Regions from separate parts of the Homo sapiens genome. Here all the other regions are linked to region 5. The links are contacts of gene promoters, found by promoter capture Hi-C in blood cells and fetal thymus (Javierre and others, 2016). All regions are on one chromosome and are shown on one strand. The core of a region is centred on a gene start or on the middle of the fragment in contact, and the rest is flanking DNA. Distances in the headings are between cores, read along the strand shown. Region 1 overlaps P2RX4 (purinergic receptor P2X 4). Region 2 overlaps OASL (2'-5'-oligoadenylate synthetase like). Region 3 overlaps LOC105370030 (a long non-coding RNA gene). Region 4 overlaps LOC105378258 (a long non-coding RNA gene). Region 5 holds the start of SIRT4 (sirtuin 4).

The links. Contacts are between HindIII fragments. The CHiCAGO score rates a contact against its expected background, and 5 or more counts as called.
Region 1: a contact is called between a fragment that was not itself captured here and the fragment with the promoter of SIRT4 in region 5, in 1 of 17 cell types (total B cells). The highest score is 5.4, in total B cells.
Region 2: a contact is called between a fragment that was not itself captured here and the fragment with the promoter of SIRT4 in region 5, in 3 of 17 cell types (total B cells, fetal thymus and non-activated CD4 T cells). The highest score is 6.6, in total B cells.
Region 3: a contact is called between a fragment that was not itself captured here and the fragment with the promoter of SIRT4 in region 5, in 1 of 17 cell types (naive B cells). The highest score is 7.6, in naive B cells.
Region 4: a contact is called between a fragment that was not itself captured here and the fragment with the promoter of SIRT4 in region 5, in 5 of 17 cell types (naive B cells, fetal thymus, naive CD4 T cells and 2 more). The highest score is 7.3, in naive B cells.

What each region holds. Positions count from the first base shown.
Region 1 is chr12:121,211,328-121,216,589 of GRCh38, reverse strand. The region is part of intron 1 of P2RX4 (purinergic receptor P2X 4); the gene reads right to left. Among named protein-coding and RNA genes, the nearest start is that of P2RX4, 3.8 kb to the right of the region's middle. The HindIII fragment of the contact is 3,683 bases long and covers 1,980-5,262 here.
Region 2 is chr12:121,015,947-121,021,427 of GRCh38, reverse strand. It overlaps OASL (2'-5'-oligoadenylate synthetase like), which reads left to right. Exons shown (of 6, transcript NM_003733.4): 6 at 370-2,317. The coding sequence ends at 867. C12orf43 (chromosome 12 open reading frame 43) reads left to right here and starts at 4,941. Exons shown (of 6, transcript NM_022895.3): 1 at 4,941-5,098. The coding sequence starts at 4,954. RefSeq lists a silencer at 4,845-5,038 and enhancers at 4,766-5,275, 5,247-5,481. The HindIII fragment of the contact is 612 bases long and covers 2,934-3,545 here.
Region 3 is chr12:121,115,912-121,120,871 of GRCh38, reverse strand. LOC105370030 (a long non-coding RNA gene) reads right to left here. Exons shown (of 3, transcript XR_007063494.1): 2 at 3,990-4,099; 3 at 1,166-1,423. Among named protein-coding and RNA genes, the nearest start is that of P2RX7, 14 kb to the left of the region's middle. The HindIII fragment of the contact is 9,656 bases long and covers 1-4,960 here.
Region 4 is chr12:121,057,869-121,063,085 of GRCh38, reverse strand. It overlaps LOC105378258 (a long non-coding RNA gene), which reads left to right. Exons shown (of 4, transcript XR_007063492.1): 4 at 3,330-3,796. It also overlaps the pseudogene OASL2P. Among named protein-coding and RNA genes, the nearest start is that of OASL, 21 kb to the right of the region's middle. RefSeq lists enhancers at 2,505-2,684, 2,705-2,874, 2,995-3,084. The HindIII fragment of the contact is 1,634 bases long and covers 1,334-2,967 here.
Region 5 is chr12:120,299,147-120,304,538 of GRCh38, reverse strand. It overlaps SIRT4 (sirtuin 4), which reads right to left and starts at 2,218. Exons shown (of 4, transcript NM_012240.3): 1 at 2,161-2,218; 2 at 481-978. The coding sequence starts at 977. The HindIII fragment of the contact is 5,713 bases long and covers 1-2,245 here.

The sequences.
Region 1 (5,262 bases), core at 2,572-5,071, 910 kb before region 5:
CTCGACCTCCCAAAGTGCTGGGATTACAGGCGTGAGCCACTGCACCTGGCCCTTTGAGCACTTTCAATGCCTGTGACCTATGGGAATCACCAAGAGATAATACAAATTATAACAGTTACCACTGGAGTGTTTATAGGCACCAGGCACTGATCTAAGCTCTTTATATGTATTAACTCATTTAATCCTGACCACTTTATGAGACAGGTATCATTATTATTATTTCCATTTTACAGAGGAGGAAATGGAAACACAGAGAGGTTAAGTCACTTGCCAAAGGTCACACAGCTAGTGAGTGGCAGAGTCAGGATTTGAACTCAAGCCAGAAGCATCTGAAGCCTCTTCTCTCACCCACTATGCTCTACTCTAAGCTTGTCTAACCCATAGCACACAGGCCGCATGCGGCCCAGGATGGCTTTGAATGAGGCCCAACACAAATTCGTAAACTTTCTTAAAACGTTATGAGATTTTTTTTTGTGTGATCAAAAAAAGTTTGTTTTTTAGCTCATCAGCTATTGTTAGTGTTAGCATATTTAATGTGTGGCCCAAGATAATTTCTCCTTCCAGTGTGGCCCACGAAAGCCAAAAGATTGGACAACCCTAGGCTACTCTTTCTAGAAAAGAGAATTCTACCCTTTAAGGAACTTTTAAGAGTAGTTTCTTACTTTTCCCCCAAGAATTCTGGTCACATATATGGTTCTCTCCTCTGAAGTGGGACTATGACTACCAGTTTGAACAATTAAAAATCCAAAGGGGCTGGGTACAGTGGCTCACGCCTGTAATCCCAGAACTTTGGGAGGTCAAGGGGGGAAGATCATTTGTGCCCAAGAGCTCGAGACAAGCCTGGGCAACATAGGGATCTCTACAAAAAATAAAAAATTAGCCGGGCATGGTCAGTTTTGATTATAGCAAGATGGACAAAAGCAAAGCATTTACTGCTTTAAAGATTCTCGTGACTGAGACAGTGAATACGTCATAAGGAATCCTACAGAGCTGTGCTGTCCAATAAAAATCCCGGCTATTTGGGAGGCTGAGGTGGGAGGATCACTTGAGCCTGGGAGACGGAGGCTGCAGTGAGCTGTGATGCCACCGCACTCCAGCCTGGGCGACAGGGCAAGGCTCTGTCTCAAAAAAAAAAAAAAAAAAAAAACCATCTACAGGCATTAGCTTATAGGGGTTAGGACAGACTGGAGGCAGAGGTCTTGGTTCATGGCTCAGCTCCACCATTCACGAGGCATAACTTTGGCCAAGGTGCTTAACCTCATTGTGCCTCAGTTTTTCCCATCTATAATCTGGGAATGATAGTAGATCTTCACAGGATTCTTGTGAGGGTAAAAGAATTAATGTAGGTCAAATGTTTACAACAATGTTTGTGAGTCATCGTTGGTCACAGAGCAAGTACTGACACCGTGGAAATTGGCCAGTACTACAAATCAGAACCCCTCCCCTTCGAACTGCTGTTAAACATCTACTAGAGACTATCAGTGTTGTTATTTATAGAATCAGGAAATGCTAGGCTTCTCCTTCTTCTAAGTCCTAGATGCTGAGACTTCAGAAATTCACTGGTTTTGTTGAGGTCAGGAGTCCAAGACCAGCCTGGCCAACATTGTGAAACCCCGACTCTACTAAAAATACACAAAATTAGCTGGGTGTGGTGGTGGGTGCCTGTAGTCCCACATACTCGGGAGGCTGAGGCAGGAGAATCACTTGAACCCGGGAGGTGGAGATTGCAGTGGGCTGAGATCATGCCACTGCACTCCAGCCTGGGCAAGAGTGAGACTCTGTCCCTCCACCAAAAAAAAGAAAAGAAATTAATGGTTTTGTTACTTATGAGTGTGTGTGATCGAGCAGTCTCCAAGTTCATTGCCCAGCCTAGAGATGGGCTTTCCCCCCATGGGCTTTTCCCCTGACAAGTCCAGGGCTTCTAGGAATTCAGCTGCAGTGTAAGCTTCCATTTAATTCCAGTCTGACACACAAAAGCTTGGGGCAGGAAGACTGATGTACTCATCAAGTACAGTGAGTTGCTTAATTTAGAGACACAGGGTTTCATGCCACTCATTATCATGTGATTATTTCCTCCTCATATGATTGTTAACAGAGTTAGATAGATGAGAATTGCGTGTTCGGTCTTTTTTTGAGGGAGGGTTGCTGTAGGAGGAGACCACAATTTCACTAAGATGAGTTGCATCAAAAAGTTAAGAGATGAGGTTAAAAAAAAAAAGAGCCTTAATGCAGGTCCTGAGTCAGTTTTGATTATAGCAAGACGGACAAAAGCAAAGCATTTACTGCTTTAAAGATTCTCATGACCGAGATAGTGAATGCGTCATAAGGAATCCTACAGAGCTGCGCTGTCCCATAAAAACATAACGCGAGCCACATATTTTTTTTTTTGAGACAGGCTCTCGCTCTGTCGCCCAGGCTGAAGTGCAGTGGCACAATCTTGGCTCACTGCAACCTCCGCCTCCCAGGCTACAGCAATCCTCCCACCTCAGCCTCCCAAGTAGCTGGGTCCACAGGTGTGCGCCACTATGCCAAGCTAATTTTTCGTATTTTTGGTAGAGATGGGGTTTCACTACGTTGCCCAGGCTGGTCTCAAAATTCCTAAGCTCAAGGGATCCACTTGCCTCAGCCTCCCAAAGTATTGGGATTACAGGCGTGAGCTACCACAGGGCAAGACCCTGTAATTTAAAAGTTTCTAGTAGCCATGTCAAAAAGTAAAAAGAAATAGAAAGGGCTGGGCACGGTGGCTCATGCCTGTAATCCCAGCACTTTGGGAGGCCGAGGCAGACAGATTGCTAGAGCTCAGGAGTTCGAGACCAGCCTGGGCAACATGGAAACCTCATGATTGTAGAGATGAGATTTCTCATCTGTACAAACAAACAAACAAAAACACAATAATTAGCCAGTCATGGTGGTGTGCACCTGTAGTCCCATAATTCCAGAGGCTGAGATGGTAGAATCACTTGAGCCTGGGAGGCAGAGGTTGCAGTGCATTGCACTCCAGTCTGGGTGACAAAGCAAGGCGCCGTTTAAAAAGAAAAAAAGAAAAAAGAGACAGGAAAAATTAATTGTAATGATATATTCTGTGTAACCCAATATATCCAAAATATTTTAACATGTCATCAATAAAAAATGTTTTCATGTGATAGTGGTACTCTTTGTTTTTTTGAGACAGTGTCTTGCTCTGTTGCCCAGGCTGGAGGGTGGTGTGATCACAGCTCTCTGTGGCCTCAACCTCCCAGGTTCAAGCAGTCCTTCTGCCTCAACCTCCCAAATAGGTAGGCCTATAGGCGTGTGCCACCATGCCAGGCTAATTTTTGTATTTTTTTGTAGAGGCAAGGTCTCGCTATGTTGCCCAGGTTTGTCTCAAACTCTTGAGCTCAAGCGATCTTCCCACCTCAGCCTCCCAAAGTACTGTGATTTCAGGCATGAGCCACTGTGCCCAGCCTCTTTTTCTGTACTATGTCTTTGAAATCCAGTGTGTATTTTAAGGTTATAGCACATCTCAGTGTAGAGTAGGAACGGTTAAGTGTTCAACAGGTGCAAGTTACTAGTGGCTACCATACAGTGCAACACCACTATGGATATTTTCCGCAGTTGTAATTTTACAGGTACCCTAAGGTAGATGTGCACTGATCCTCCCACTAGCAGCAAACGCCAAAAGCAAAAAGCTGCAGGGGAGCTCCTGCCCCCAAATGCTTCAGGTCCAACCAGGGATGTGAGTTCAGTTAACTGGCTAGCAGTGAGTCTCCAAAAAAAAAAAAAAAATATATATATATATATATATATATATATATATATTTGAGATGGAGTTTTGCTCTTGTTGCCCAGGCTGGAGTGCAGTGGCGCAATCTGGGCTCACTGCAACCTCCGCCTCCTGGATTCAAACGATTCTCCTGCCTCAGCCTCCCATGTAGCCGGGATTACAGGCATTAGCCACTAGGCCTGGCTAATTTTTTGTACTTTTAGTAGAGACGGGGTTTTACCATGTTGGCCAGGCTGGTCTCGAACTCCTGACCTCAGGTGATCCACCCGCCTCGGCCTCCCAAAGTGCTGAGATTATAGGCATGAGCCACCGTGTTCAGAAAAAAAAAAAAAAAAAATTCTTTTTTTTGCACTGCTCCATCAGTACAATTTACCATTTTAAACTTTATTTTTCTCTTAGAGATGGGGTCTCGCTATGTTGTCCAGGCTGGTCTTGTGTCCAGGCTGGTCTTGAGCTCCTGGCCTCAAGCAATCCTCCCACCTTGGCTTCCCAAAGCACTGGGACTACAGGTGTGAGCCAATGAGTCCAAATCTGGGTGTGGGCCAGGTGGTTCTGATGTTGAGTCTGCACCTGGAAAGCCATCCTCTTGAATACTGTCTGTATCTACTGCTGCTGCTGACAGATATTGGAAGCCAAACCTGCTTGGGCTTCCCTTGGGCAGTGTTAAGATTCCAAACCTCACCCCAAAGACGGGGGGATCTGTTACTTTTAAACAATTCCTCAGATGAGTCTTCCATGATCAGGTAAACTTGGGAAACACAGTTCATTGGTTCCGAAACGTTGCTGAACATGAGAATCACCTGGGCAGCCGATCATACTCTGCAGCAATTAAATCAGAAGGTCTGGGGATGCGTCTGGGCGCGGTGGCTCACGCCTGTAATCCCAGCACTCTGGGAGGCTGCGGCGGGTGGATCACCTGAGGCCAGGAGTTCGAGACCAGCCTGGCCAACATGGCGAAACCCTGTCCCTACTAAAAATACAAAAATTAGCCGGGCATGGTGGTGGGTGCCTGTAATCCCAGCTACTCAGGAGGCTGAGGCAGGAGAATCGCTTGAACCAGGGAGGTGGAGGTTGCAGCGAGCCAAGATTGCACCACTGCACTCCAGCCTGGGCGACAGAGGGAGACTCCATCAAAAAAATAAAAAAGGGTCTGGGGATGGGAGCCAAAGATTTCCAGATGGTTCCAATGTGCAGTTTGGAGACCACTGCACTAGGCAATACGTGTCAGCCCAGCAGCTGTAGACACCAGAACACCCCAGGTAAGCCTTTAAAGTGGCCCCAGGTGGCAAGGTAATTATCATCTTCTCTCTCGCGTTGTATTCAATTGTAACAGGTGCCAGCCCCGCGTGGGGGCTCACGCCTGTAATCCCAGCATTTTGGGAGGCTGAGGTGGGCGGATCACCTGAGGTCAGTTCAGGACCAGCCTGAAACCCCGTCTCTACTAAAAAATACAAAAATTGGCCGGGCGTGGTGGCGGGCACTTGTAATCCCAGCCACTC
Region 2 (5,481 bases), core at 1,990-4,489, 720 kb before region 5:
TAGCCTCTGGAGGTGGTGAGAACACAGACTCTGGAGTCTGACCAACCTCACTTCACATATCTGCCCTGCTCCTTACTACCTATGTGATTGGTGTTCAGTAAATTACCTAACCCTGCTCAGTTTCCTCATCAATAACATGGGGGTAACAGTAGAACCAACCAACTAATAGAGATGCTCTGAGAATAAAATGCATTAAGGGTATGGAAGGTGCTCAGCATACAGCCTGGAAAGTGCTTACCACTCCCTAAACATTTGCTGCTGCCGCTGCTGCTGCTACTATTGTAAAGATAAGGACAGATGAAGGGAACATTTGCACATCAGACAAAGAAGTGTGGACTTAACACCTCTCCTTCTCCCTCTCCCTTCCAGAGGGCACGAGACATCCACTTGACAGTGGAGCAGAGGGGTTACCCAGATTTCAACCTCATCGTGAACCCTTATGAGCCCATAAGGAAGGTTAAAGAGAAAATCCGGAGGACCAGGGGCTACTCTGGCCTGCAGCGTCTGTCCTTCCAGGTTCCTGGCAGTGAGAGGCAGCTTCTCAGCAGCAGGTGCTCCTTAGCCAAATATGGGATCTTCTCCCACACTCACATCTATCTGCTGGAGACCATCCCCTCCGAGATCCAGGTCTTCGTGAAGAATCCTGATGGTGGGAGCTACGCCTATGCCATCAACCCCAACAGCTTCATCCTGGGTCTGAAGCAGCAGATTGAAGACCAGCAGGGGCTTCCTAAAAAGCAGCAGCAGCTGGAATTCCAAGGCCAAGTCCTGCAGGACTGGTTGGGTCTGGGGATCTATGGCATCCAAGACAGTGACACTCTCATCCTCTCGAAGAAGAAAGGAGAGGCTCTGTTTCCAGCCAGTTAGTTTTCTCTGGGAGACTTCTCTGTACATTTCTGCCATGTACTCCAGAACTCATCCTGTCAATCACTCTGTCCCATTGTCTACTGGGAAGGTCCCAGGTCTTCACCAGTTTTACAATGAGTTATCCCAGGCCAGACGTGGTAGCTCACACCTGTAATCCCAGAACTTTGGGAGGCCGAGGTGGGAGGAGCGCTTGAGCCGAGGAGTTCAAGACCAGCCTGGGTATCACAGGGAGACCCCGTCTCTACAAAATAAAAAAATAATTCACTGGGTGTGGTTGTGCACATTTGTAGTCTCAGGCACTCAAGAAGCTGAGGCAGAAGAATCACTTGAGCCCAGGAGGCTGAAGCTGCAGTGAGCTGTGATCACACCGCTACACTCCTGCCCAGGCCACAGAGCAAGACCCTGTGTCTAAAAACTAAAACATAAAAATAAGTAAATCCGTTTAAAAAAAGGATTATCCCAGCCCTGCCAGGGGGAGGATGAGGAGGGGTGTGAGGACTAAATATACAAATAAATAGTGTGGTCACATGACGCACAGCAACAGAATTCGGACCCACAGCCTTCTGCAGCAATCAACCCCAAACCATCAGGACTTGGGCGATAACTGGCAGCATCTCTAACTCCCCACCCTACTCCCATCCTGCTTCCTATTTATGACCAACCCAAGAAACCCAAATAAGCTCCCCAGACCAATCACATGGTTAGCCCCACTTCTGGTGAGTGCACTTCCAGCTTCCCCATACCAACAGCCTCAATCACGGCATCCCTGAAGCCTTCCCATTTTCCTGCCTGTCTTTAAATCTCTGTCAAAAGCGAGAGATGGGTGGCTGGTTCCTTTGCTATAGCAAGTTGGGAATAAATCGCCTTTGTTAGTTCTCATTTGGGGGCTGTTTATTTCCACAGGGCCTAATGCTGTCCTAATGGTTATTGCTTGATCATTTGAGCTTCTCAACTCTAAGAAATGAGGACTGGGGAAACTGAGGCAAAAAGAGACAAAGAATGGGAGATTGAGGATGATGCAGTGTAAAAAAAAATCACCTCAACTCCTAAAACCCATACACAAACAGTACATAATAGTCAGGAAACTGTAGGAAAGTAATAGCATCTTTATTATCAAAGGACGTCATGTGATCAGGTTTACTCCAAGCAATAAAAAGTTTCCTTTTGCCCCCCTGTTTTGCCTAGTTTTCTGGTGGGCTACTCTCCTACCATAGCATAGAAAATGCACACTGCAATTGGTTATCAACAGCCTCTGGTCAATTTAGCAATCATAATCTGTGTATCTCCCACCTCTGTTTGCCTTCAGGGACAGAAAAAGTGCCTCCTTTCCAGGAGGTAGACAGGCTGTTCCAGTCCCCATCTTTGTGTCCTTCATAATGCCCAGCACAGCCCACATTGTAGGTGGTGGGAAAATTCTTGTTTAAAATAAAAAAAAGAATGAAAAATGCAATGTCTTAGTCCATCTGGGCTGCTAAAACAAAATACCATACACTGGATGGCTCATGAACAATAACCATTTATTTCTTACAGCTCTGGAGGCTGGGAAGTCCAAGTCAAGACACTGGCAGATTTGGTGTCTGGTGAGGACCTCTTCCTGATTCACAGATGGCAGCTTCTCACTAAGTCTTCACATGGTAGAAGAGGCAAAGGTGTCTCTAGGATCGCTTCTTTTTTTTTTTTTTTTTTTTTTTGAGATGGAGTCTCGCTCTGTCACCCAGGCTAGAGTGCATTGGCATGATCTCAGCTCCCTGCAACCTCTGCCTCCGAGGTTCAAGCGATTCTCCTGCCTCAGCCTCCCGAGTAGCTGGGACTACAGGCACCTACCACTGTGCCCAGCTAATTTTTTTTTTATTTTTAGTAGAGACGGGGTTTCACCATCTTGGCCAGGCTAGTCTCGAACTCCTGACCTTGTGATCCACCTGTCTTGGCCTCCCACAGTGCTGGGATTACAGTTGTGAGCCACCATGCCTGGCCTCTGGGGTCTCTTTTATGAAGGCATTGATCCAGTTCATGAGGGCTCAGGACCCATTATGTAATTGAAAGATTCTCCGTGGGGCCTGAAAGCTTAAGAGAATGAATGACCCCTCCCTCCCCTCCCTCCTTGGGCCCGGTCCCAAGGCGCAAGGCCACTCGCGCCAGCAGCATGTGTCAGCAAGATAGCAGAAGCGGGAAGAGAGCGGGCCAGAAGACACCTACCCCCTGAAGACCGAGAGAGACGTCATCCGGGTACAATGTAGCGGTTACAACAGACTGAGAAACTTCCTGTTTACAGGAGACTACAAAACCCCTGCCCCGTCCTCATTTGGTGCTGACGCCATTTTAAGCCTCAGCCCACCTGCACACACACTGCCTCATGTTGTCTGTTGGCCACGCTCTTGGGGTTCGAACCAACACAAGACCCTTTCACTAATTACTTCCCAGAGGTCCCACCTCCTAATACCATCACCTTGGGAGTAAGGACTTTTTGGAAATTATCAGTATCAAAATGGAGTCACTTATGTCAAACCCTAACAAATGCCTGTCACAAAAATTATCTCAAGAAGTTCCTAAAATCCGCAGTATTATAGATAAACCACTTGCATAAGAATATTTGCCTAACAGTGGGTGTCTCCACAATAAGCTAAAGCCAACTCCTGCAACAGGCTCCTGTGATCAACGGTACTTGTTTTAAAGAAGCTTATGTGGACTTTGTCTTTTCTCGTTGCCACAACCTCTTTTAATGTGCCTATAGTCCACTATAGCATGCATATCTCAAATTGCAATTCCTTGCAATTCTGGAATAAACGCTTTATTTTGGAGAGTCAGTCTCTCTGTTATTTATTTTATGGTGTCAATTTTAACATATGAATTTTGGAGGAACACATTCAGACCATATCAGTCACCTTCCTCTTCTTTGAAATAGAAAAAGCTCAAGGCCAGAGAGTTTATTTTAGTAAAGTTTTGACATACCTGTCTTCAAAGATAAAACATGAAACAGCATTCCACACACAAAAGTAAAGTGATTTTGTTCATCCTTCACTGTGAGGTATTTTAACCACAGAGATTCTAATTTTTTGGTCTTGGATGGGTCCTGGGAGTCAGTATTGCCTGGCTAATTTTTGTATTTTTAGTAGAGATGGGGTTTCACCATGTTGGTCAGGCTAGTCTCGAACTCCTGACCTCATGATCTGCCCGCCTCGGCCTCACAAAGTGTTGGGATTACAGATGTGAGCCACCGTGCCCGGACAGGATTCTGCATTTCTCTTTTTTTTTTTTCGAGACAGAGTCTCAGTCTGTTGCCCAGGCTGGAGTGCAGTGGCACGATCTTGGCTCACCTCAACCTCCACCTCCCAGGTTCAAGTGATTTTCCTGCCTCAGCCTCCTGAGTAGCTGGGACTACAGGTGCGTGCCACCATGCCCAGCTAATTTTTGTATTTTTAGTAGAGATGGGGTTTCACTATGTTGGCCAGGCTGGTCTCGAACTCCTGACCTTGTGATCTGCCTGCCTCAGCCCCCCAAAGTGTTGGGATTACAGGCGTGAGCCACCGTGCCCAGCCTGGATTCTGCATTTCTAACGAGCTCCCAGGTGTTACCAATGCTGCTGGCTCATGGACTACACTCTTAAGTAGTAAGGCCCTAGGCTATTAAAGGAAATACAGATTCCTGGATTCCACCTATCAGAGATTCTGATTCTGTTAGTATTTTCTGTGAGACCCAAAAGTCTGCAGTTTAACCAGCTCTCTAAGGTGTTTCTTAGGCCCAGCTGGACTGGGAAATTACTAGAATAAATGACATGGAATCAAAACCTGGGAACTAATCCTGGGTCTGTCATTAACTCCTTAGGAGATTCCCATCCCCTCTGGAGATCTGTCATCAAGAAATGATTGGAGAAGTTAATCTCTTAGGCCCTTCTAGCTCTTGCCTTTGAGAACCGCCCACCTCCCCATTCCCACCTGGTATCCCCAACCCAGTACAGTTCATGGCCAATGGCGGTCCAAGTCTTGGAACTACAATCCCCACAATGCCTCGCGCCTCTCCTCTCACGTGACGTCATGAAGGAGGCTTGATAACGGCGGTGTTCTCCACAATCCTTTGCGGTGGTTCAAGATGGCGGCGCCCAGTGGCACAGTGAGCGATTCGGAAAGTAGTAACAGCAGTAGCGATGCGGAGGAGCTGGAGCGGTGCCGCGAGGCGGCAATGCCGGCTTGGGGCTTGGAGCAACGCCCGCACGTGGCAGGGAAGCCAAGAGCCGGTAGGGTACTATGTTTGGGGAGACTGGCTGAGGGGCGTGGGATCTTCCCCTGGAGCCTGAGAGGATGGATGGTGAGGAGAGAGTCACTGGGACTCGGCTTCCTTCCCCGAGAGACCTCCAGGGACTGGGTGTAGTGCAGATTGAAAGCATGGGCAGGTGCAGTAGGGAGGGTATTTCATTATTCCAGTCGGGGAAGCTGAGGTACCCAAATGTCTTTTGATTCTGCCTCCTTGGGTCTATCCTCACTGCCCCACACTGGGAAGGCTGCCGTCTCTTCGAGATAACTGCAACAGCCCCCTCCCGGTATTCTCGCACCCAGCCTTTCCCCACCTCCAACACATTCTCCCACCCTGGAGGTTGTTGCCAAGAGCAGTGCCCAGCAC
Region 3 (4,960 bases), core at 1-2,500, 820 kb before region 5:
TGTACAGATATTCCACATTTTGTTTGTCTGTTAATCCGTAGATGAACATTTAGTTTCTTTCCACTTTTTGGCTACTGTGGATAATGCTGGTATAAACATGGTTCTACAAATTCCTATTCATGTTCCTGCCTTCAATTCTTTGGGGGGATATAGCCAGTAGTAGAATTGCTGGGTCATGTGGTAATTCTGTATTTAAGTTTTTGAGGAAACACGTTTTGTTTTTTCTTTTTTATTCTTTTAACACAAAGAACATTTCTTCTGTATTTTTATGTAATCTGCCAGGATAGCCACGCGTGCCTGATAGCATCTCCTTTTAAACCCAAAAGCTGAATACATCACCCTTGGAAGGGGAAATATCTTCCTTGTATCAGTGAGTCACCGCCTCTCTCGCTAAAGCAGAAATAAAAATTATTAATTTAATTCCAGCTGGGCACATTGGCTCATGCCTGTAATCCCAGCATTTTGGGAGGCCAAGGCAGACAGATCATCTGAGGTCAGGGGTTCGAGACCACCTTGGCCAACATGGTGAAATCCCATCTCTACTAAAAATATAAAAATTAACTGGGCATGGTGTTAGGCATCTGTAGTTCCAGCTACTCAGGAGGCTGAGGCAAGGGGATCACTTGAACCTTGGAGGTGGAGGTTGCAGTGAGCCGAGATCACACCGCTGCATTCCAGCCTAGGCAATGAGTGAGACTCCGTCTTAAAAAAATAAAAATAAAAATAAAAATAAAAATGTAATTCCAACAGTGCATTTTGCTACAGAGGATAGAGAGGGGAAGCAGAATAAAGTTATGCTGAATAGTTGGACATTTAGGACATGAGACAAAAAACAGAAGCAGAGAGACTGAGAGAAGGAAGAGAGGAGCTGAGTTATGGGGCTGTGGCGTGAAGACCACCAGCCCCAAGACTCCCTCGAGTGATCCTCAATAAAGAGTTCCTCCCTAGTCCTGGACTCCAGGAGGCCTGACTCATTTACAACATGTCTTCTTGTTTTCTACGAGATCTCGTCTTCCATATTTCTCTCTGAGCATCCGCATAAGAAGCCCTAAGTGTGTAACTGTTCAAACGAACGCAGCTAAAACACAGTCTCATTCCCTTGGTTCCCACCAAACTGACAGCACCTTCATGTCAATGACATTGACTCACTTGGGCCCATTTTGTTGAGCCAGTGACATGGCACTCATCAGAGTAGTCGTCTCAATCCAGCTAAAGAGCTCCAAGCCAAATGGAGAAGCCAGTGGAATGGGTAGGAACTGGGATTGTCACTATGCTGAGGAATGGAGATGGTGATATGGGATAAAGCAGGTACAGCAAGCAGGACGTGAGGGCCAGAGCTGAGGGGTCTGCAGGTCAGGAGGCTGAGCTCAGGATCGCTGGAGGCCCCAGGAAGGTGTAGGGAGGGCACCTTGGTTCTGCCCACCTGCAGGAAGAGAAGAGGGGATGGCGATAGAGTCCATGATTGAAGATCTCTGTACTTCTCCCTGCCCATGGCATAGCTCTTACCAAAACTCCCTCTTTTCACTGGCCTTTTTATCCAGTCAAACCAAATTTCCCTTGTCTCTCTCTCTCTCTCTCTCTTTCTCTTGCTTTTTTTCATACCCACCCCCATTTCTCTTATGCCTAGAACAGTCGCCCACTTAGCATCTGCCTGCCCAGTACTTTGCCTTCCTTTACAACTCCACCTACCACTTAATTTCTCTAAGTGGCTAATTAACTGAAAGTTGAATAATTATACCTCTTTCCCCAAAACACATCTCTGAAATCCCACATGCCCCTGGGGTTGCGATCCATGAAGAAAGGTCTCTGACTACCTAATTTTCATTAAGGGAATTCAATGAGATGACTAATTACAAGCACCATGCCTGGTATCTAATACTGTTCAGTGAACTGCAGCTATTAATTAATAATGATATGTTATTAATAATAATAAAATAATAATATGATATAAGCTCTTAGAAGACAAGGACAGTGGCTGCTCTATGCCAAGTTTCAATAATCCAATATTCAATTTTTTTTTTTTTTGAGACAGAATCTCGCTCTGTCGCTCAGGCTGGAGTGCAATGGCACGATTTCGGCTCACTGCAACCTCCATCTCCTGGGTTCAAGCAATTCTCTGCCTCAGCCTCCCGAGTAGCTGGGATTACAGGTGCCTGCCACCATGCCCAGCTAATTTTTGTATTTTTAGTAGAGACAGGGTTTCACCATCTTGTTCAGGCTGGTCTTGAACTCCTGACCTCGTGATCCACCCACCTCAGCCTCCCAAAGTGCTAGGTTTCTAGGCGTGAACCACCATGTCTGACCTCAGATATTTAATTGTAGCAGAGATTGATAGATTTTTCTGCCATGCCCATCTTCCCCCTCTAGCTCAATTTGAGATCACAGACCTTCATATCCATAGCTGTGGCTTATTGGACCAGGGTGAACATCTGCCCAGGAGAGCAAGACTATTGGCTGGTCAGTGGCCAATTGGGACTGCTCTATTGAGAATATGAGCCATGTGTAGCGGCTCATGCCTGTAATCCCAGCAATTTGGGAGGCCAAGGCAGGAGGATCACTTGAGGCCAAGAGTTCAAGACCAGCCTGGGCAACATAGCGAGACCCTGTCTCTACAAAAAAAAATTTTTTTTAATTAGGCATGGTGGTGTGTGCTTGTAGCCTAGCTACTTGGGAGCCTGAGGTGGGAGGATTGCTTTAGCCAAGAGTTTATTTGTAGAGATGAGGTTTCACTATGTTGCCCAGGCTGGTCTCAAACTCCTGGGCTCAAGCAATCCTCCCACCTCGGCCTCCCAGAGTGGTAAGATTACAAGCGTGAGTCACCAGACCCAACCCCAGCTCTGCCATCTCTATGGTGTTACCTTCATCAGCATGATCCAAAATGGTTCCCACCAGAACTGAATTCTAAAAAGGCTGGAAGCACTTTAGGAGGCTGAGGCAGGTGGATCACCTGAGGTCAGGAGTTCGAGACCAGCCTGGCCAACATGGTGAAACCTCATCTTTACTAAAAATACAAAAAATTAGCTGGGCGTGGTGGCACGTGCCTATAATCCCAGCTATTTGGGAAGCTGAAGCAGGAGAATTGCTTGAACCCAGGAGGTGGAGGTTGCAATGAGCGGAGATTGCACTACTACACTCCAGCCTGGGTGACAGAGCAAGACTCCATTTTTCAAAATCAATAAATCAATAAAAAATTAAAAGCCTGGAAGAAAGAGGAAAGGAGAAAGAGAAGGCATGTTCCTCCCTTGAAGGATGGGATCTGTCACTGCCACTTGCAGGTCATTGGCCAGAGCGTAGTCACATGGTCACACCTACCTGCAGTAGAAGGTAGGAAATGCCATCCTCATTCTGCTGACCATGTTCCCTACCGAAAATCAGGGAGCCAGACATTGAAGACAACCAAGAATTCCTGCCACCAGTACCCATGAAACAGTCCTCTGAGCTGGGGCTGAATGAGTCCTACACATGGAAGGAAATCTTTGGGTTTCCAGGGGATCTGGGCAGCTCTGAGGCATATAACATAGCCCAGCCAGGAAAAAGCTCCCAAAAGAGAATTTATTTGTCCAGGAATGTACAGGCAAAAAATCACCATTCTGTGTTTTTCCATGGGGTAGAGGCCTGACCAACCTCATGTGGTTTGTTCCGTCCAGCTTGGCACTGACAGAGGCTGGTGGGGCCTGGGGGAGGGTCTGAAAATCCAGGGTCTCAGGTATGAACTACTGCTCTGATCAACTGCTAGGCTGTGTCCTGTGGGAATGTGCTGGGTTTCTACATGACCCAGAGGTCACTGATTTCACAAGATCTGCAAACAATCCAATATTCAAATATTTAACTATAGCAGAGATTGATAGATTTTTCTGCCATGCCCAGTATCCCCCTATAGCTCAATCTGAAATCAACAGACCTTCATATCCACAGCTGTGGCTTATTGGACCATTCCCTGATCCACCAGCTGAACGAGAGTCATGCTGTCCTCTGAGGCTCCACCATACCTGGAATAGACATCTCTTGGTAGGACCATGCTTCCTGTGTTCTCAGTTGATATGGCTCAGATTGAGCTGTCCCCTTCCGCAAGTCCCAGGGGCAGGTCCAGGATCCAGTCCTAGATAATCAAAGCACAATTTTTCCCTGGCTACTGTGCTTTGTTCAAGAGCAGGCACATGATTCAGGTTGGTCTGAGACAAGTCTTGGAATTTTGGCTAAAATCATTGAAAAAGTGGTGCTCTTTGAGTTGGAGTTGCTAAGCTGGCAGGACATAAGCCTAAAGCTCTTGGTGGCCGTCATGCCAGCAGGGAATTAAGTTGACTCAGAGAAAACCAGAGGCAGAGGGTAATGATGGAGGGATTTCTGATGACATCATTTGAACACACTGATCAAGCCATACCTGAAACCTCACTAGATTTAGGAGCCAATAACCTCCCTTTATTGCTTAAGCCAATTGGAGCAGGCATACATATCACTTTTGACCAAGAGTCTTGGCTAATCTAGCATCTTTGTGTCCCTTCATAACGTGGCTTCTCACTTTGTATCTGATGTGGCAATTATTCCTGAGCACAATTAATGCGTCCTCCTTGGCTACGAGAATTTTTTTTTCTTTTTTTTTTCTTTTTAGATGGAGTCTCTCTCTGTTGTCCAGGCTGGAATGCAGCGGTGCGATCTCAGCTCACTGCAACCTCCACCTGCTGGATGCAAGTGATTCTCCTGCCTCAGCCTCCCGAGTAGCTGGGACTAAAGGTGCATGCCACCACGCCCGGCTAATTTTTATATTTTTAGTAGAGACAGGGTTTCACCATGTTGGTCAGGCAGGTCTCGAACTCCTGACCTCAAGTGATTTGCCCTCCTCAGCCTCCCAAAGTGCTGGGATTACAGGCATGAGCCACCGTGCCCAGCCAGCTATGAGATCTTGAAACCAGAATTCCTCCTAGGTGCCAGACACAACTCAGGTGTTTGGGGAATGCTTGGT
Region 4 (5,217 bases), core at 901-3,400, 760 kb before region 5:
GAAGCAAGCAGAAGGTCACCAGGAAGTTCTCTGTCCTCCACCATCTATCCGTTTTATGGACTAAAAAATAGTCACAAGATTGAAGTGCTTTTGCTTCCTAGGAAACATGGTGTCATTCATTCATTTATTCAGCCAACATTAACTGAGGCCCCATTGTGTGCCAAGAAATGTGCTAGACCCTGGGACCACGTGCTTCTCACGCTGAAGATTCCCAGTAGAGAAGACACATAACAAACTGCCCGTAGAATGGGGCTGCCTTATTCATTTATGTATTCTCCAAGCCTCGCCCAGTGCCCAGCACGTAGTAGGAGCTCAATAAATAATAAGTGCCTTGGGCAGTAAGATAATGTCGTGGGTAAACCTCTGGCATTTAGAATCAGAGAACCTGGGTTTGAATCACAGCTTGTCCACTTCTTTGGTGTGTGACTCTGGGCAGGCCACATCATCTTGCTGAGACTCGATTTCTTCATAATGTAACATGGTGTGAACCTGCATCACAGAGTCTTGTGGGGATTATGGGAACTAAACTGTGAAAAGAGGCTGGGTGTGGAGGCTCGCGACTCTAATCCCAGCACTTTGGGAGGTCAAGGCAGGCGGATCACTGGAGCCCAGGAGTTTGAGACCAGCCTGGGCAGCATAGCAAAACCCCATCTCTACAAAAAAAAAAAGTACAAAAATTAGCCAGGCTCAGTGATGCATACTTGTAGTCTCAGCTACTCAGGAGGCTGAGGTGGGAGAATCACTTGAGCCTGGGAGGTGAGGTTGCAGTGAGCCCAGATCATGCCACGCACTCCAGCCTGGGTGACAGAGCCAGATCCCATCTCAAAAAAAATAAAGAATAAAATAAACTGTGTAGAGAGCCTGGTATACACGAAGTGCTTGATAAGTATAGCTATTGGAGTTAATATCAATACCATAATGTCAAAGAGCCCTGGTAAACACTCTGGGCTCCTGTCTGCCTTCTGAAAAACAAGGATTAAGCAGATCCCCTCTGTCTCTTCTGTACTAGGATCCTAGGAACTACAAATGGTGATTGTTTTAGGTGGGTGTGGAGCATCATCTTGTGGAAGAGAGGAAAATTGACAAAAATGTCGCAGTTTCCTATTAAGAATATATATTGGAATTCACAGTTTTTAAAATATGAGTACATATACCAAAAATGCCCTAATGCAAGGTGATCCCCAAATCCAATCAATTTTTCCAATGGACTAATAACAAATATTTGCCAGGGAGAAAATAAAAATGTGTTTGAGAATCACATGGATCAATGGGGAAAAACATAAAAATAAATGAAAAATAAAAATATGTTGGCATAGCCCTAATTACATAAGCTTAAGGGAAATCAAATATGCACTTCCAATATTTCGTTAATTTATTTAGATACAGCTATACATTTGTATATGTTATGGGGTAATATACAAATATTACTCTTTTCCACTTTCAGTTTTCAAAAAGATTTTGTAACTCAAGCTCTTCACAGGCATCTCCCACTTAGTGGTTTTCCCTCTCCAAGGCAATTTTTGAATCTTCTAAGCCTGTGTTTCAGGGCTCAGTATTTTTTACTCTGTTAAGCAGAGTGAGAGACAGGCTGTCATGAATCTGGACATTTTTATTTTTAATTTTTTTTAGACAGGGTCTCATTCTGTTGCCCAGGCTGGAGTGCAGTGGTTTGATCACAGCTCACTGCAGCCTCGACTTCCCAGGCTCAGGTGATCCTCCCACTTCAGCCTCCCTAGTAGCTACGGGCACATGCCACATGCCCGGCTAATTTTTTTGTATATTTTGTAGAGATGGAGTTTTACTATGCTGCCCAGGCTGGAAATCTGGACATTCTTAACAAACCTCAGTGACATATTTATGCGTTGTTAGGGCATTTTTAAAATGCATCCTATAGGTGCATACTTATGGCCTCCACAGTATCAATGTGGGATTTACTTTCTTTCCTTTTTTTTTTTTTTTTTTTTTTTTTTTTTTTTTTTTGAGACAGTCTGGCTGGAGTGCAGTGATGCCATCTCGGCTCACTGCAACCTCCGCCTCTGGGGTCAAGTGATTTTCCTGCCTCAGCCTCCCAAGTAGCTGGGATTACAGGCGCCTGCCACCACGCCTGGCTAATTTTTTTGTATTTTTAGTAGAGACGAGGTTTCATCATGTTAGCCAGGCTGGTCTCAAACTCCTGGCCTCAAGCGATCCTCCCGCCTCGGCCTCCCAAAGTGCTGGATTACAGGCGAGAGCCACCGCGCCTGGTCGCTAGTTGAGATCTTTAAAAGCCAATGTGTCTACCACAAACTGTCAGTTTGCTCTTCAAAATGAAGTTCTTGAGAGAACAGCGCCCCCTAAAGACAATTTTTTAAAAGATTACCTCCTTCCTGTGGATTATTGGTGAGGGGATAGGGGAGACCTAAATATACGCAACAAAACAAGTAGTAAAGGGGTGAGTATGTCTTTGCTTTTAGAAAATAAAGAGTCAATCCCAGGCCCCAGGACTCCCGGGGCTCAGCCCAAGCCCCCATCCCCTCACCCCAAGGAGCCAGCACCTTCTGATTCCGGGGCAGACACTACTGAGTTCCCGTAGGGAGACAAGGTCTGCTCCTGCAGCAGGAAATAGGGGATGGAGAGGTGGGGGCAGCCCAGCTCCAGGACACCCTGGGAAACTCCCAGCCTGAGAACCTTCCTCTCAAGGAAGCCCAAGGGGCACTTGGCTCCATCTCCAGCCTTTTTTCCTGGCAACCTCAAATGGAAAGAGAAAATTCCTCTTTCAAAGCTCAGCAAATTTTCTGTTTCCAATTAAAACAAAACAAAACAAAACAAAAAAACCCAAACAAACAAAACAAAGTTCAGTTTCAGTTTCCATTCTCAGCCGGCAGGAGAGATGGCTGCTGAACTAAGGCAGCCCAGCAGAGGGAGGCTCAGCTGATGCCTGGAGGGCCCCCTAGCCCTCTCTGCACCCTAAAAAGAGGAAAGTAAGCTTAGTGATTCTTCCGTCGGTGGCTCACGCCTGTAATCCCAGCACTTTGGGAGCCCAAGGCGGGCAGATCACCTGAGGTCAGGAGTTTGAGACCAGCCTGGCCAACATGGTGAAACCCCGTTTCTACTAAAAATACCAAAAATACCAAAAATTAGCCGGGCGTGGTGTCAGGTGCCTGTAATCCCAGCTACACAGGAGGCTGAGGTGGGAGAATCCCTTGAACCCGGGAGGCAGAGGTTGCGGTGAGCTGAGATCACGCCATGGGTGACAGAGCAAGACTCTGTATCAAAAAAAAAAAAAAAAAGAAAGAAAAAGGGCAGCTAACTCTCTCTCTAACCCACACCATCTCCCTGCCCTTCTGCAGTTCTGTGGCCTACTGGACAAAGGCTGGGAGTTGCCCCTTACAGGGCTGGGCAGAAGCAGAGACGATTCATTCCTGGTCCCACAGAGATGGCAGGCTTCCAGGACCTGTATGACACCCCTGGGGACAGGCTGGATGTCTTCATAAAACATCCTTCCAGTCTGCCTTCGTAAAACAGCCTCCAGCCCCAGGGAGACTGGAAGGATGAAGTGAAGGATGCCGGGCATTGAACTGAGCAGTTCTTGAGGGATCAGTTCTTCTATAATGAGCTGATTCTGGACCAGGAAGTCAGGGTGCTGAAGATGGCAAAGGTGAGCACTCAGGAACCCCCGGGGTTCAAATCCCAGCTCTGCCCTGTGGGACTGTGGGGCTGTGGGATAGGTAAGGGATGAGTTATTTTGTCTCTCTGAGCATCGGTCTCTTCCTCTCTAAAACCGGTTTCTAATGAACAATAAATGGGATAAAGCATAGAAAAGTGCTCTTAAGCAGTAAACTATTCTACAAATCTGGATGATGATGATGATGATGATGATGATGATGATGATGATTTGGGATCCAGCTCTCTAAGTGCCAGGGAATCAAGTGGACTATGGGTAGCAGGTTTGTATAAAATTTATGCCTTTTGGCCAGGCACAGTGGCTCACACCTGTAATCCCAGCACTTTGGGACGCTGAGTGGGGAGGATCACTTGAACCCAGGAGTTCAAGGCCAGCCTGGGCAACATTGCAAGACCTCATCTCAATTATTTAAAATTTTAAACTTTTTTATATATTATTTAAAAAAAATTTTTAAAGAAATTAAAATAAAATTTATGCCTTTTGTTTCCTCTTTAACCAGCCCCACTTAACCCCTAAAGTCATCAAGATCATCTATATTTTCCTTCTAAAATGGCACTGACTGGCCGGGCGCGGTGGCTCACGCCTGTAATCTCGGTACTTTGGGAGGCCAAGGCAGGCGGAACACGAGGTCAGGAGATCGAGACCATCCTGGCTAACATGGTGAAACCCCGTCTCTACTATAAAAATACAAAAAAAAACTTAGTCAGGTGTGGTGGCAGGCGCCTGTAATCCCAGCTACTCGGGAGGCTGAGGCAGGAGAATGGTGTGAACCCGGGAGGCAGAGCTTGCAGTGAGCTGAGATCACGCCACTCCAGCCTGGGTGACAGAGTGAGACTCGATCTCAAAAAAAAAAAAAAAAAGTAAAAAAATAAAATGGCGCTGACTGATTTTGTTAGAAACTACCTAGCAATTAGGTAATATCAGAGGGTACTCTCTGGGTTCAGAGGGTTTGTTAGAGGCTGACCATGGAATCAAATACGTATTTATAGCATGGTTTCCCCTGGGAAAGTACTAAACTATAGTTCAACTTTTAACATATCACCCTAAATCAAAAATGCCTTAACCATAAATCTAGATTTGGTTTATTTTGCTAGAATGAAAGACATCTAACATTATCTTAAGCAAATCAGACTTCACCTGGGAGTGGCAATGGCTGCCGAGAATACGACTGAAAAGGAAGGAAATGCAGCTTTAATGAATCTTCAGGCCAGGCACAGTGGTTCTCGCCTGTAATCCCGGCACTTTGAGAAGCCAATGTAGGCAGATTGCTTGAGCCCAGGAGCTCAAGACCAGCCTGGGCAACATCACGAAAACTTGTCTCTACAAAAAGCACAAAAAAATTAGCCAGGTATGGTAGCATCCACCTGTGGTCCCAGCTACTCGGGAGGCTGAGGTGGGAGGATCACTTGAGGCCAGGAGGTCGAGGCTGCAGTGAGCTGTGGTCATGCCGCTGCACTGTAGCCTGGGTGACAGTGTCTCAAAAAAAGAATCTTTAAATACGGAGTCGAAGGCAAATAATCAGGAGTGTTACTAGCAAACCCTGAGCTTCAAAA
Region 5 (5,392 bases), core at 969-3,468:
AGCTGGGATTACAGGCATGTGCCACCACGACTGGCTAATTTTTGTATTTTTAGTAGAAATGGGGTTTCACCATGTTGGCCAGGCTGGTCTCGAACTCCTGAGCTCATGTGATCTGCCCACCTCAGCCTCCCAAAATGCTGGGATTACAGGCGTGAGCCACTGCGCCCGGCCCCAGTCCTCAAGTTTCATTGAGACAATCCTCAGGCATGTCCTAGACAGTTGGAGGGTCCCTCACAGGACTGAACCCCAGTGCCCAAGGCAGTAACCCACTCATTAACACACACTTTCTTGGCTTTCCTCTCTTTCCTGTTTTACATCCTTGCTCCGTCAATGAATTTACTGGAATCAACTGCAAAATAAACAACTTGCTCTGAAATCCTTTTCTCAAGGTCTAAGACTGTGGTGATCAAGACAGCCAAGGTCCCTACTCTCCCAAAACAACACACGGGTTTGCGTTCAAACCGTGTACAGCTCCTGCACCTGTCCATGCATCCGTGGAGCTCTGTCAGGCGCCGACTCCCCGCCTTGGTGTGCAAAGCATCCACATTTTGGGTCACCAACCAGTACAGCTTTCCGAGTTTCTCCCAGGTGCTCAAAGCCCAGTGTGCAGGGTTAGGCTGGTGGGAGGAGAATTGAGGCCAGCCTACGAAGTTTCTCGCCCAGTACCGCTGGCGGATTGGGGCACTCCGGACAAAATCACCATGCTGGATGGGCCTGCGGTCAGTGCGGGCATAAAGCCCCACTTTTTCTGACCTGTAGTCTGGTATCCCCGATTCGGTGGAGATTCCTGCCCCAGTCATCACAAGGAGTCTCTTGGAAAGGGTGATGAAGCGCTGTAACTCTTTGACCTTCTCAGGGTCCAGAGGAGGACTTGCTGGCACAAATAACCCAATGGAGGCTTTCGAGCACGGCTGGCTGGGGTTTGCGATCCAACGGCCTTTTGCTGACCTGAAAGTCAACGCAAAGCTCATCTTCATTCTAGAGAAAAAGAAGCCTCATGTGAGAAACTGGGGTGGTTTTTTTTTTTTCTCATTTTTTGTTTGTTTGTTTTCGTTTTGTTTTTTGAGACAGAGTCTCCCTCTGTTGCCCAGGCTAGAGTACAGTGGCATGATCTTGGCTCACTGTAACCGCCGCCTCCCGGGTTCAAGTGATTCTCCTGCCTCAGCCTCCAGAATAGCTGGGACTACATGGCCACCATGCCCGGCTAATTATTGTATTTTTAGTAGAGGCAGGGTTTCACCATGTTGGCCAGGCTAGTCTCGAACTCCTGAGCTCTAGTGATCTGCCCGCCTCGGCCTCCCAACGTGCTGGAATTACAGGTGTGAGCCTCTGAGTCTGGCCCTAATGAGTCAGGTTTTGTTTGATTTTGTTCATGTAATTAAGCACACACACGCATTCCTTTTATTTTTTCATTTCCCCCTTATTTTAGTTTACCCTCCACTGCAAGCTCTGCTACTTGGACACATCAGAGAGACAAGACCCCTGCCCGTCAGCTTTTCTAGCTGTAACAATAGAGGGCCGGGTGCGGTGGCTCACGTCTGAAATCCCAGCACTTTGGGAGGCCGACGCAGGCAGATCACTTGAGATCAGGAGTTCGAGACATGCCTGGCCAACATGGTGAAACCCCGACTCTACTAAAAATACAAAAAAAATTAGCCGGGCATTGTGGCACGTGCCCGTAATCCCAGCTACTAGGGAGGCTGAGGCAGGAGAATTGCTTGAACCCGGGAGGCGGAGGTTGCAGTGAGCCGAGATCGCGCCGTTGCACTCCAGCCTGGGCGAAGAAGCAAGACTCCGTATCAAAAAAAAAAAAAAAAAGAAAAAGAAAAAACTTTGACATATTATTTGACACAATGCAATGCATAAATCCTCTAGTGACATGCACCCCGTATGTAAACATTATTTTATGTTTGGCTTTCCAGATCTGAGATCAGGACCCCGCTTTCTCCTTGACATTCCACAGCAAAACGTGAACAGCTGAACAAACACACAGTCCGGTTTCCCGAGACCAAAGGGTCAGGGGAAACCCCCGCTGAAAACGTGCATCAGTGGAACAACTACTCTCTTCCAGGTCCCACCGAGGGCAAAGAGGAGAAATAGAATCCCTCACAAGAAATCCACAACTTCTAGAAATCCGCAGCACACACAGAACACACTTACCTCTCACAGCTCTACGGACACTTCACACCCCACAGTGGGACCGTCTGATTGCATTTGCATTTTGGGACATGTAGTCCAGAAAGCTTAAATGATGCGAGAAAAACCACAAGTCCCACAATCCTCCGCGTCTCGCAATTGACAGCCCCAGATCATCCAGGAACGCCCCCTGTCGGCTCTTTCTGGTCAGAGGTTCCCCCGTTAATATAAAAGCTTTTAATCATGGATTTTTTTCTTTGTTTTCAATTTCTGTGGGCACTTAGTAGGTGTATATATTTATAGTGTACATAAGATTTTTTTTCTTTTTTCTTTTTTTTTTTTAAGACGGAGTTGTTGTTTTTTTTTTTTGAAAAAACTCCAGTCTGGAGTGCAGTGGCACGATCTCGGCTCACTGCAACCTCCCTCTCCCGGGTTCAACCGATTCTCCTGCCTCAGCCTCCCGAGTAGCTGGGATTATTTTTGTATTTTTAGTAGAGACGGGGGTTTCGCCATGTTGGCCAGGCTCGTCTTGAACTCCTAACCTCAGGTGATCCGCACGCCTTGACCTCCCAAAGTGCTGGGATTATAGGCGTGAGCCACTGCGCCCGGCCATCTTTTCTCTTATTTTTTGTCTTTTTTTCTTTTCTCTGTGCCTGTCTATGCTTTACCCACATGAGATGTTTTGATACAAACATGCAATGTGAAATGAGCACGTCATTAATCATGGATCTAGATTTGACTTTTTTTTAAAGTTTTTGTATTTTTAGTAGAGACAGAGTTTCACCATGTTGGCCAGGCTGGTCTCGAACTCCCGACCTCAGGTGATCCGCCAACCTCGGCCCCCCAAAATGCTGGGATTACAGGCCTGAGCCACTGTTCCCGGCCTAGATTTGACTCATTCTAAACATCAGAGTTTGTGATCCTTTTCATTCACAACGACAGTATCAAGTTATTTGCTATTGGTAAAATACCTTGAACTTGTGAAGAAATGTGTTTATACATATCTGAAAAAGTGATAGTTTGTTGTTGTTGTTGTTGTTGTTTGTTTGTTTGTTTTTGAGACGGAGTCTCGCTCTGTTGCCCAGGCTGGAGTGCAATGGTGCCATTTCGGCTCACTGCAACCTCCGCCTCCCGGGTTCAAGCAATTCTCCTGCCTCAGCCTCCTGAGTAGCAGGGATTATGGGCGCATGCCACTACGCCCGGTTAATTTTTTTATTTTTAGTAGAGACAAGGTTTCACCATGTTAGCCAGGATGGTCTTGATCTCCTGACCTCGTGATCTGCCCACCCTAGCCTCCCAAAGTACTGGGATTACAGGCGTAAGCCACTGTGCCCAGCCAAAAGTGATGTTTTTACAGTTAATATGAAGCCAAATATATTATACCTGGACTAATGTACTTAACCTGCTTGGCTTCTCCAATTTTATTTATCATATTTTTTTTATTAAGTTAATCAAACAAGGCCTGCGTCTCACTCCCAGGGATTCTGATCTACAAATTTCCTAATTGTTCCTAATGTGTAGACAACCAGAACTGCCGCTCTGCAGCATCACCTAAATCAATAAATGTATAAGTGTCTTTGGACATAAAGGTGGGCGGCCAGCAGGGACCTTGAAGACCACCTAAGGACTCCCTTCCCCCATTTTAAGATGAATTGGGCTGAGTGCAGTGGTTCCCACCTGTAATACCAACACTTTGGGAGGCCAAGGCAGGAGGATCACTTGAGCCCAAAAGTTCAAGACCAGCTTGGGCAACATAGTGAGACCCACTCACTACAAAAAATAAACAAAATTAGCGGGGTGTGGTGGTGTGTGCCTGTAGTCCCAGCTACTCAAGAGGCTCAGGTGGGAGGATCACTTTGAGCCCAGGAGATCGAGGCTGCAGTGAGCCATAATTGTGCGACTGCACTTCAGCCTGGGTGACAAAGTGAGATCCCATCTCTTCAAAAAATAATAATAATAAATAAAGATGAACTGAAGTGCAGAGAAGTAATGTGGAAGCTTGAGAAAGAGTTTTTAGGTTTTTGGTTCTATCATTGTATCTTTGGAGGTAATATTGGCAAAATGACCATTTAGTAGTTTGCCCATTTCTGCTTTTTTTTTTTCTTTTTTTTGAGACAGGGTCTCGTTCTGTCACCCAGGCTGGAGTGCAGTTGTGACATCACAGCTCACTGCAGTTTCTACTTCCCAGGCCCAAGGGATCCTCCAACCTCATCCTCTCGAGTAGCTGAGATCACAGGCATCCACCACCACGCCCAGCTAAATTTTGTTATTTTTTATTTTTGTCGAGACACGGTCTCACTATGTTGCTCAGGCTGGTCTCAAACTCCTGAACTCAAGGAAAGCTCTTGCTTTGGCCTCCCAAAGTGCTGGGATTACAGGTGTGAGCCACCATGCCGGGCCTGCTTATTTCGACTTGGCAGCATCGTTTCATGAAGCCCCTGACTCTGTGACAACATACAGCTCTCCAGAAAGATGCTTTGAAGACAAAACAGAATAGAGCACACAGCCCTCCATGTCTCTTCCAAGTCACTATATTCATTAAAAGATAAATGACTCTGGTCATTGCCTTTTCCTGCACAAGATAATGTCTGATGGGGTTAGTGATGATACCTCTGTAATCCATAACCAGATATACTCTTGCACCCAAACTTTGATATGATTGTGCTTTAATGTAACTTTGAAGCAAGTTTAATGTGATTTTGCAGGCGCCGTACACTCACCACTTGTATATGAGTGGCTGAAATTCTGTGTTGGACCAGTCTGATGGAACTGCTCCCACACTATAGCCCTCGGTCTGTAATCCTCAGTAAGACTTGTAAGTAAAACTAACTTTAATTTTTTTTTTTTTTTTTTGAGAGAGTCTAGCTCTGTTGCCCAGGCTGGAGTGCAGTGGCGCGATCTTCACTCACTGAAGCCTCTGCCTTCCCGGCTGAAGTGATTCTGCTGCCTCGGCCTCCGGAGTAGCTAGGATTACAGGCGCTCGCCACTGCGCCCGGCTAATTTTTGTATTTTTAGTAGAGATGGGGTTTCGTCATGTTGGCCAGGCTGGTTTTGAACTCGTGACCTCAGGTGACCCACCTGCCTCAGTCTCCTAAAATGCTAGGATTACAGGAGTGAGCCACTGCACCCCGCCACTTTTATTATTATTATTATTGTATTTATTTATTTATTTATTTATTTTTGAGACGGAGTCTCGCTCTGTCGCCCAGGCTGGAGTGTAGTGGAGAGATCTCGGCCCACTACAAGCTCCGCCTCC